Linked DNA regions of Homo sapiens: all the other regions are linked to region 3. Evidence: promoter capture Hi-C in 16 types of primary human blood cells and fetal thymus (Javierre and others, 2016). All regions are on one chromosome and are shown on one strand. Each heading gives the region's core, a stretch centred on a gene start or on the middle of the fragment in contact. The rest is flanking DNA. Distances are from core to core; before and after follow the strand shown. Region 1 holds the start of LOC124905138 (a long non-coding RNA gene). Region 2 overlaps PPARA (peroxisome proliferator activated receptor alpha). Region 3 holds the start of PKDREJ (polycystin family receptor for egg jelly).

Region 1 (3,212 bases), core at 63-2,562, 120 kb before region 3:
GTAGGGCAAGACCACTTTCCATTGTGGTATCTTTGCAGCAGTGCCATTGTCCCTTATGGAACAGTGTCTCAGGACCCCGCTCCTGCTCCTTCTGCCGGCTCTGAGCAGGTGAGGACAGGGGACTGGGAAGGTCCCCTGCATCTGAGCCCGCCGGTGCTCAAGCATCTTTCTTGGCTGCCCAAGAACATTGTCTGCAGGACAATCCCAGCTCCTCAGCCTGCGTCTCTGGCCCTCCAGGTGCCCACTGCTTATGCTTCTCAGTCACATCCCTGGCCTGCCTGGGCTCAGGGCTGACTCTTACTCCAAGGGTGGGCAGCATGAAGCTGGAGCCATTTTGCAGCAGGAAGGATTCTGCCTACTAGGAGCCGAGGCCACACATGGGGGAAGGCAGGGTTCCTCTGCCGGAGCCCCTCCTGGTGTGATGAGGGAGGCAGGCACACAGAGAGGGAGTTAGAAGAATGGGGTTAGTGGGAAACTGAGGTCTGCCCCAGGCATGAGGAGGCAGTGAGGGCAGACTCCTAGCCCAGCAGGGAGAGGAGGTACTGAGAGCACCCAACCCTGAGTGAACAGCAGCTAGACCAGGCCGGGCAGATGGCCAGTCCCTCCTGCAGCGCACTCCAAAGTCTCAGGGAGCCAGGGAACAGGCAGAGCTGAGAAAACGTCCTGGAAACTCCACAGGAGCCCAGAGCCCACCATGTTCTCTGAGAGAAAGTCAGCACTGGGCACGCTGGACAGGGAAGCAGGGTCATGCTTGGAAAGGCCAACTCAGTCCTTGCCACCCACTGAGCACCCACTAGCTAGTTATTTGGTTTTGTTTTAAAAACTCAACTCATCACGAATACTCACCAAGATGCTTTGATCTAATTTCATGCCTCCACCTGGAGAGGGGGAACGATGAATTGACAGTCTCCCAGCCTGTCTTCCCCACCAGCCATCCAAGAACCCTGCCTGCCAGGATGCTGGTCCTGTGTCTGCCTGCCCCACGCCACCGTCACCTTGCAGAGAAACACTGATTGCCTTCACACATCTGGCTCCAGCCAACTCCCTCCTCTGCACACCTTGAGGCTCCCAGGCAGAGAGGAGGCTCTTCCCCAGGCCGGGGGCCCCCCTGGGAGGGTGTCCAATGTCATGCCAGCCAAGGCCCGTGTGGGCGTAGCTCCTGCAGGTTCTCAAGGTTGTAGCCCGCACCCTGCTCCTTGGTTTTGTGAAAGATCAAAATCAGGGCCTCACATAGAACTTTATATTCCAACGCTGCAAGTCTCAACACAAACCAATGTGTTGACTTGAAAATAAATATCACTAATAAAATGGAGAAGAGAGCTGGCATGGAAAGATTGGGAAAATGTCAAGAATTCTTGGTGCTGTATGTTTATCAGTAAATAAAGCACATCTGAGGGGTGAGGGGTCGGCCCTTGGACCTTGGGCTCTTACAGATGGGTGCCATTTTCAACAGCTTTGGAGACAAACATGGTGTTTGCCAATATCTTGGTTTTGCCAAGTCAAAGCTAACCAATATCAGCACTTCATCTAAGCAATTCCCACTAAGGAAAGGTATTTTCAACAACAACAAAAGAATATAAAGGATATAGTCTTGGGAAGGAAAAGGATATTTGTCTTGTTTTTCTTTGAGAAAAGAAATGAGCCTCTCAATGTTGCCCAGGCTGGAGTGCAGTGGTGCAATCACAGCTCGTTGTAGCCTTGACCTCCCAGGCCCAAGTGATCTTCACACCTCAGCCTCCTGAGTAGCTGGGACCACAGGCACGTGCTACCATGCTTGGCTAATTTTTTTTTTTTTTACTTTTTGTAGAGACGGGGTCTCATTATGTTGCCCAGGCTGGTCTCAAACTCCTGGCCTCAAGCAATCCTCCCGCCTCTGCCTCCCAAAGTGCTGGGATTACAGGTGTGAGCCACTATGCCTGGCCTGAAAAAAAAGGCTATTGCTTTTTTTTTTTCTTTTTGAGATGGACTCTCACTCTCGTTGCCCAGGCTGGAGTGCAATGGCGCAATCTTGGCTCACTGCAACCTCTGCCTCCAGGGTTCAAGCAATTCTGCCTCAGCCTCTCAAGTAGCTGGGATTACAGGCATGCACCACCACGCCCAGTTAATTTTTTGTATTTAGTAGAGACGGGTTTCACCATATTGGTCAGGCTGGTCTTGAACTCCTGTCTCAGGTGATCCACTTGCCTCAGCCTCCCTAGGTGCTAGGATTACAGGCCCACCATGCCCAGCCCAAGGCTCTTTCTTTTCTTTTCTTTTCTTTTTTTTTGAGACAGAGTCTCACTCTGTCGCCCAGGCTAATCTCCAGTCACTGCAACCTCCGCCTCCTGGGTTCAAGCGATTCTCCTGCCTCAGCCCCCAGAGTAGGTGGGACTACAGGCACGTGCCACCATGCGCAGCTAATTTTTGTATTTTTAGTAGAGATGGGGTTTCACCATGTTGGCCAGGCTAGTCTCGAACTCCTGGCCTCAGATGGTCCACCTGCCTCGGCCTCCCAAAGTGCTGGGATTACAGGCATGAGCCACCACGCCTGGCCCCGAGGTATTTCTTTAAATCAGCTAGTTGAAGTTCTATAGGAAACTCTTCACAATGTCAGTTTTTTGTTTTTTTGTTTTGTTTTGTTTTGTTTTTTTCACTTTGCTGCAGACCCAGAAAACTTTGTCAAACATGACCTGTCCCTTCCAGGAGATGAGGGACCATGGCCCAATCCCACGTTTTAGTGAAACCCAAGCAGAGCAATGCAATAGGGCAGCCCCCCTTCCACTCAGCTGCACAGGCTCCGGTTCAGATTGCCTTTCCTGGCTGGCAGGATGCTTTGGTGAAAGGCAGATAATAGGGTGGGACAGGGGATCACGGGCGGGAGACACGTAGGCACTGGGGCTGGTGTCTGCGAGGCATGAGGCCTGCCTGTCGGCTGTCCTGAGTGGAGAGACAGGACCGGGCAGTGGGCCGCCATAAAGATGGTGCTGGATGCGACAAGAGCCGCATGGAACACAGGAGGTGGTGGCCACACAAGGCAGAGGGCAGCTTTGGCAGGGGGACGGTTGCCAAGCAGGCTTCCTGTAGGAGGCAACTCTTGACAGAGCCCTCAAGCTGGTGGTTACCATGTCCCAAATATGACCCACTCATCAGGCCCCACCCTGCACCACCCCCGTGCTCCCTCCTCAAACTCACACCAGGACCCATCCAGGAAGGCGTCCCTGCCCCATTTTAGA
Region 2 (3,113 bases), core at 514-3,013, 93 kb before region 3:
GCGCCAGTGGTTGCCAGGGGCTCATGGGGAGGGAAAGAGGAATGAATAGGTGGAACACAGGGCATGTTTAGGGCAGTGAAACTATTCTGTATGGTACCGTAACGATGAATACATGTTATTAGGCATTTGTCAATACCCATAAAATGTACAACACAAAGAGTGAAAATGAAAACTGTGGGCTTCAGTTAGCAATAATATGTCAACATTGGCTCATCAGTGGCAACAAATGTACCTCACCAATGCAAGATGTTTGTTTGTTGTTTGTTTGTTTTGTGACGGAGGGGGTGCAGTGGCGCAATCTCGGCTCACTGCAAGCTCCGCCTCCCGGGTTCACGCCAATCTCCTGCTTCAGCCTCCGGAGTAGCTGGGACTACAGGCGCCCGCCACCACGCCCGGCTAATTTTTTGTATTTTTAGTAGAGACGGGGTTTCACCATGCTAGCCAGGATGGTCTTGATCTCCTGCTGTCGTGATCTGCCCGCCTCGGCCTCCCAAAGTGCTGGGATTACAGGCATGAGCCATCACGCCCGGCCACCAATGCAAGATGTTAATAACAGGGAAACTGTGGTGGGAGTGAGGTGGTATATGAGACCTCTCTGTACTTTCCACTCAATTTTTCTGTAAGCCCAAAACTTCTCTAAATAAGAAAGTTTATTAATTAAAAGTTACTTTTATAGTGTATCTATATCTAGGAATAAATCTGAAAAAGATATATAAGATCTCTACTCAGAAAACTGATTATGTTATTAAGAGAGCTTAAATATAGCCCAAATAAATAGATGGATATACTATGTTCATGGAAGGGACAGCTCAGTATTAGGAAGGTGTCAGTCATCTTAAGAAAAGCCTCATGTGTCACACAAGGGATACTGACATCTGACACCAAGCACATGTAGGCATCCTGACTACGTTTACTTGAATGATGTGGACTTTACAGAGCTGACTATAGACAGTTCAAATGGCCTGAAAACTGTTCAATGCACTCCCTCCCAGGCTGTCATGGGATGCACTTCAGGAACTTTACTTTTTAACAAGAAAATTCAGTTTTCCTCTTAAACAGCTGGCTTCTGTTCCATTAGCATTCTTGTCACTTTAAGTTGCATTCATCTTTGTTTTTTTTTTTTAGAAAAACATTTGTTCTGCAACCAGTCTTGTCCTTTAAATACTTGTACTGTATACAGGCTCTTTTTCATAGGTCCATTACTTAAAATGATGTAAGTGTGTTTTTGGTGGCAGGGGGGTGGGAGTTGTTTGTTTTGTTTTGTTGAGACACGGTCTTACTCTGTCACCCAGGCTGGAGTGCAGTGGTGTGATCTTGGCTCACTCCTGGCCTCAAGTGATCCACCCACCTCAGCCTCCTAAGTAGCTGGGACCACAGGTGTGTACCACCACACCCAGCTAATTTTTTTTTTTTTTTTTTTTTTTTTTTGTAGGGACGGGGTTTTGTCATATCACCCAGGCTGGTCTCAAACTCCTGGACTCAAGGGATCAGCCTGTCTCAGCCTCCCAAAGTGCTGGGATTACAGGTGTGAGCCACTGCACCGGTCCTGATTTGAGTTTTTGTAAGACAGGGAACAATGTTCAGAATTTAGCACCAATGTCAGACTCATTCTGTAAATTTTTATTGAACGTCTGCCTGGTGTAGGAGAGGAAGATGACAGACAAGAATTCTTCCTCCAAGAGTTACAGGTCAGTTGAGCAGAAAAGGCATACATCAATACCCACAATGAGAGTTGTCGTGATTCAGAGGAGGGACAAAGTCCTTCCCCTGGAGGGATCCTGAGCACTTTGGAGAGGAAAGGCATCTGTACTGCCCCCCAAATGTGTAGAATGGGATGCATTCCTGGCAGAAAGAAGTAGGATAAAGTACAGAGGCCAGGGCTGGGTGCAGTGGTTCACGCCTGTAATCCCAGCACTTTGGGAGGCCGAGACAGCAGATCACCTGAGGTCAGGAGTTCGAGACCAGCCTGGTCAACATGGCAAAACCCTCTCTCTACTAAAAATACAAAAATTAGCCAGGCACAATGGCAGGTACCTGTAATCCCAGCTACTTGGGAGGCTGAGGCAGGAGAATTGCTTGAGCCCAGGAGGCAGAGATCGCAGTGAGCCAAGACTGCGCCACTGCACTCCAGCCTGGGCAACAGAGCAAGACTCTGTCTCATAAAAAAAGAAAAAAAAAAAGTACAGAGTCCAGGAAGCCTGGGGTGGGGCTGGCAGATGCCGAGTCATCTATTTTGGCCAGAGTTCAAGGCTTGCTAGGGGACATGAAGAGAAGATTCGTGCATTCTAGTTCAAACTCCACCAGATATTTGAGCTCCTTCTCTGTACCAGGCATTGTTCTAAGATACGTAAGTGAACAAAACCCATGACACCCTCGTCTATGAGAGCTGATCCTCTGGCAGGGACAGACAGGTCATGAGTGGAGTGATGGAGCAGCTGGCCTGGTGACTTAGCCGCCTTCAGGTACAGTAGGAGGAGCAAGCCCAGGACAGGTGAGTGGGTCAAGGGTGCCAGAAGGGGTGAGGGCACCAGGAAGCTGGTCCAGTTTGGCTTCCCTGAGGTGGTGACCAGGACCTAGCATCTGAGGAAGGGCTGGAAGCAGGTGAGAGCAGGTGGAGCAGACATCAGGATGGGAGCATCCTGACAGGGAGGGCAGCAGGGTGGGCTCATGAGAGGAACAGCCAGGAAGTGTGACTCGAGCAGTGTCCTGGAGAGGAGGAGGAGGAGAAAGAGGTCAGGAGGTCCCAGGGGAGAGGCAGGACCAGTCTCGTGGAGGTCGGGGCCGTTGTGAGGACTCTGGTTTGTGTTGTGTGTGAAAGGCCATGGGATGGGGACCAGCGAGGGCTTCTTAGGGGACTGGATATGCTCTGATCTAGCTGCTAAAAAGCCCCCTTGGGCAGCTTGCAGGGCCCGGGCAGAAGCTATAGGTGGTTCTGAGGTTTGCAGAGGGGCCTGAAGGGGTGGGGCCCGGCCAAGCAAGGTGGCTAAGTGGGAAAGGCTCCACCGCGTTGGGTGTAGGAAGACCTTGACCTTAGCTCCAGCCCAGCCACTGAGCAGCCGTGTCGCCTTGGGTGATACCTGTCCCTGGTCGGTTTCCCTACCTGTGAATCTGGG
Region 3 (3,289 bases), core at 599-3,098:
TGATTTCACCAACACTGTGCAAATCAGAAACAATTATTTTATATGTAAGAGGGACGTGCTTATCCCTAAAATTACTACACTGGACAACAAATTTAGTAATAAGTGCAATTCCTTTAGCTGGATTAATTTTGCATTCTCCGATCTGAGGGCCATGGTTAATAATAAAAGAATGCCTGAAGACCGAGGTCACTCCACTCCAACATGCTAGATACAGAGAAATCGAAAACTCAGCTTCCAAAAAATGCCGAAAAGCAAAAGCTTTTATAGACAGATAAGCACCATTCCTTCCTGTTACAGTTTCCCCCATCCAATCAAATAGCATCTCACCACCTGAAGAAGACAAAATTGACCATTTATAGAAATCACGGCTTGCACAATTTGTGCAATTTAGGAACAAAGAAAATCTATCAGAGACAATGAAGTTTCTCTCACAATTTTCGATACATGTGATGTGTGCTATGGCTTTTGGTCCTTGGAGCACGTGGACCCTCTTATCAGAAAACGCTGTCCTAGAGTCCTTCCGAATCACCATTCTGAAGAAATACACGTGGTCGCCTTTAAGTGTTTCTGGCAAAAGTGTCAGTACAGGGCCCGAGGCCCAGGGCCATTTCAGATTGGCCTGCTCGGGGTGACAGACTTCCTTGCTCCCCAGGATTATTCGATCCCCACCGTAGTTTCTGGGATCTGTGGTACAGTACCAAAAGAACTGGAGTCCCTGTAACGGGCTGTCCGCATCTGGGTCCGAGGACGTGGACCCGTCCAGAATCAGCTGCTCTGTGAAATTAGCTGTTATGTTGGCATCGCCAAGCATCACCGCCTGCAGGGAACTCCTGACGATCCAGACATAGACGGCGTCCGAGTCTTTCACCTCGGGCATCTTGGGGTTCCCTGTGGTGATGGACACCGTGAAATTAAACACATACACTCCCCACTGTAACGAATTATTGGGGATGTGAATGAACAAGGGGCTGTTCCTGATCTCGAGCTGGGGCAGATCCAAGGGCTGCGTCCAGTCGGGCGCCTGACCCACGGCGGGCACGGAGAACACCTGCCAGTACTGGGCGATGGCGCGCGCGGCCGGGCAGTCCAGCTGCACCGAGGCGTTGATGGTGGCCTCCGCCTGCATGCTCAGGCGCACGGGGGCGCCCTTCTGGTCCGTGTTGATCCTCACGCGCTGGATGACGCAGGCGTTTATCTGACAGGACACGGACGACTCGACGGCTCTGTGGCTGGACGAGTTGACGGCCTGCAACATCACGCGCGCGGGGCCGTCTGTGGGGCACTCGGTGCGGGCCACGAAGCCCTGCTGGGGCCGCGGGCCTGGCGCGGCGGAGCGCGGGGAGACGCGGGCCGCGGGGGAGGCCGGGCGGGCGGCGCCGGGTCCGAGCAGCCGCAGGCGGAAGGCCCAGGCCAGGCGCCCGGGCGAGCGCGGCAGCCGCACGGACCACGTCAGGGAGAGGCGGCCGCCGCGCGCGGAGAGCTGCAGGTCGACGAGCGCGAGCGCGGGCGCGGCCGGCCAGGGCAGGCGTTGGGCGCTGAGCAGGACGCGCAAGTCGAGGCAGTACCAGCGCCGCCCGGTCCCGCCATGGGGGAAGCAGAGGCTGCCGCGGCCGCTCAGGACAGCGCCGCCCGCCCGCACCGCGCTGGGCCGCAGACTGAGGAGGGCGCGGCCGCCGCGCACCCCGAGGCCCGGGGCGCCCCTGAGGAGGCCACCGGGCGCCCCGGAGACGGCGGCTTGTGCCCCGCGAGGAACCGGCGGCAGCGGGAGGCGGCCGACGCTCAGGCTCAGGCCCACGCCCAGAAGGAGGAGAGCGGGCCCAGGCCTCATGGCGCCGGCCCAGGAGAAGCTGGGAGAGGCCGCGAGGCGCGCCCAACCGCCACCGGGGTCGCGGGGATAGTGAGGGTCTTGGGGACAGTGGGGGTCTCGGGCGTCGAAGGGCGCTGGCAGAGGGGTCCCAGGGACAGAGTCCCAGAGAGCAGCTGGGACCTCGGAGCTTGGGGTCAGTCGGCACTGGGGACTTCTTGGGTACCTCTTCCCTCTCCGTCCCCAAGTGTGTGCAGGCCCAGGGTCAGGATGGCTCAGGAGGGCAGTTCAGCCCCGTGCAGACCACAGAGCTGACCACGGAGAAGGGGCTTCAGCAGGAACCCTTGGGAAAGCCAGTCACAAAATGGGAGATCAGGAGGGAACCGTGAGATCCCTGGGCGCCCAGGAAGGTCTGACTCTCGGTTTCTTACTTTGGGGTCGCTTTGCTCTTTTCTTTCTAGTTGGTTTGGGGGTTTTGTTTTTTGTTTGTTTGTTTGTTTGTTTGTTTTTTGAGACGGAGTCTCTGTCACCCAGGCTGGAGTGCAATGGCTTGACCTCAAGTGATCCACCCACCTCGGCCTCCCAAAGTGCTGGGATTACAGGCATGAGCCACTGTGCCTGGCCTCATTCTTTAACTCTGTCCATTTTTGCTGTATATTTTGGGACTTGATTGATGGATTGAATGATTTTAGAGACAGGGTCTTGCTCTGTTGCCCAGGCTGGAGTGCAATGGTGCAATCATAGCTGACTGTAACCTTGAACTCCTGGGCTCAAGGAATCCTCCTGCCTCAGCCTCCCATACTACAGGTCTACACCACTACACCTGACTGATTTATTTTTTATTTTTGTAGAGATGGTGTCTTGCTGTGTTTCACAGGCTGGTCTCAAACTCGTGGTCTTAATTGGCCCTCCCCTGTATTAGTCCGTTTTCATGCTGCTGATAAAGACATAACCAAGACTGGGAAGAAAAAGAGGTTTAATTGGACTTACAGTTCCATATGGCTGGGGAGGCCTCAGAATCATGGCAGGAGGCAAAAAGCACTTCTTGCATGGCAGTGGCAAGAGAAAATGAGGAAGACGCAAAAGCGGAAACCCCTGATAAAAGCATCAGATCTCCTGAGACTTATTCACTACCACAGAACAATATGGGGGAAACTGCCCCTGTGATTCAGTTATCTCCCACCCGGTCCCTCCCACAACATGTGGGAATTATGGGACTATAAGATGAGATTTGGGTGGGGACACAGAGCCAAACTATATCATTCCACCCCTGCCAAATCTCATCTCCTCACATTTCAAAACCAATCATGCCTTCCCAACAGTCCTCCAAAGTCTTAACTCATTTCACATTAACTCAAAAGTCCACAGTCCAAAGTCCTGTCTGAGACAAAGGAAGTCGCTTATGCTTATGAGCCTGTAAAATCAAAAGCAACTGGCTGGGCGCAGTGGCTCACCCTGTAATCCCAGCACTTCGGGAGGCTGAAG

Evidence for each region. The method cuts DNA at HindIII sites, captures the fragments that hold promoters and counts their contacts. A CHiCAGO score of 5 or more calls a contact.
Region 1: a contact is called between a fragment that was not itself captured here and the fragment with the promoter of PKDREJ in region 3, in 4 of 17 cell types (erythroblasts, megakaryocytes, endothelial precursors and 1 more). The highest score is 9.1, in erythroblasts.
Region 2: a contact is called between a fragment that was not itself captured here and the fragment with the promoter of PKDREJ in region 3, in 1 of 17 cell types (erythroblasts). The highest score is 6.7, in erythroblasts.

The regions. Positions count from the first base shown.
Region 1 is chr22:46,142,580-46,145,791 of GRCh38, forward strand. LOC124905138 (a long non-coding RNA gene) reads right to left here and starts at 1,649. Exons shown (of 2, transcript XR_007068140.1): 1 at 847-1,649. The HindIII fragment of the contact is 4,128 bases long and covers 1-3,212 here.
Region 2 is chr22:46,169,002-46,172,114 of GRCh38, forward strand. The region is part of intron 2 of PPARA (peroxisome proliferator activated receptor alpha); the gene reads left to right. LOC105373074 (a long non-coding RNA gene) reads right to left here. Exons shown (of 2, transcript XR_938315.3): 1 at 3,101-3,113. Among named protein-coding and RNA genes, the nearest start is that of PPARA, 20 kb to the left of the region's middle. The HindIII fragment of the contact is 5,560 bases long and covers 1-3,113 here.
Region 3 is chr22:46,261,495-46,264,783 of GRCh38, forward strand. It overlaps PKDREJ (polycystin family receptor for egg jelly), which reads right to left and starts at 1,849. Exons shown (of 1, transcript NM_006071.2): 1 at 1-1,849. The coding sequence starts at 1,828. The HindIII fragment of the contact is 7,014 bases long and covers 257-3,289 here.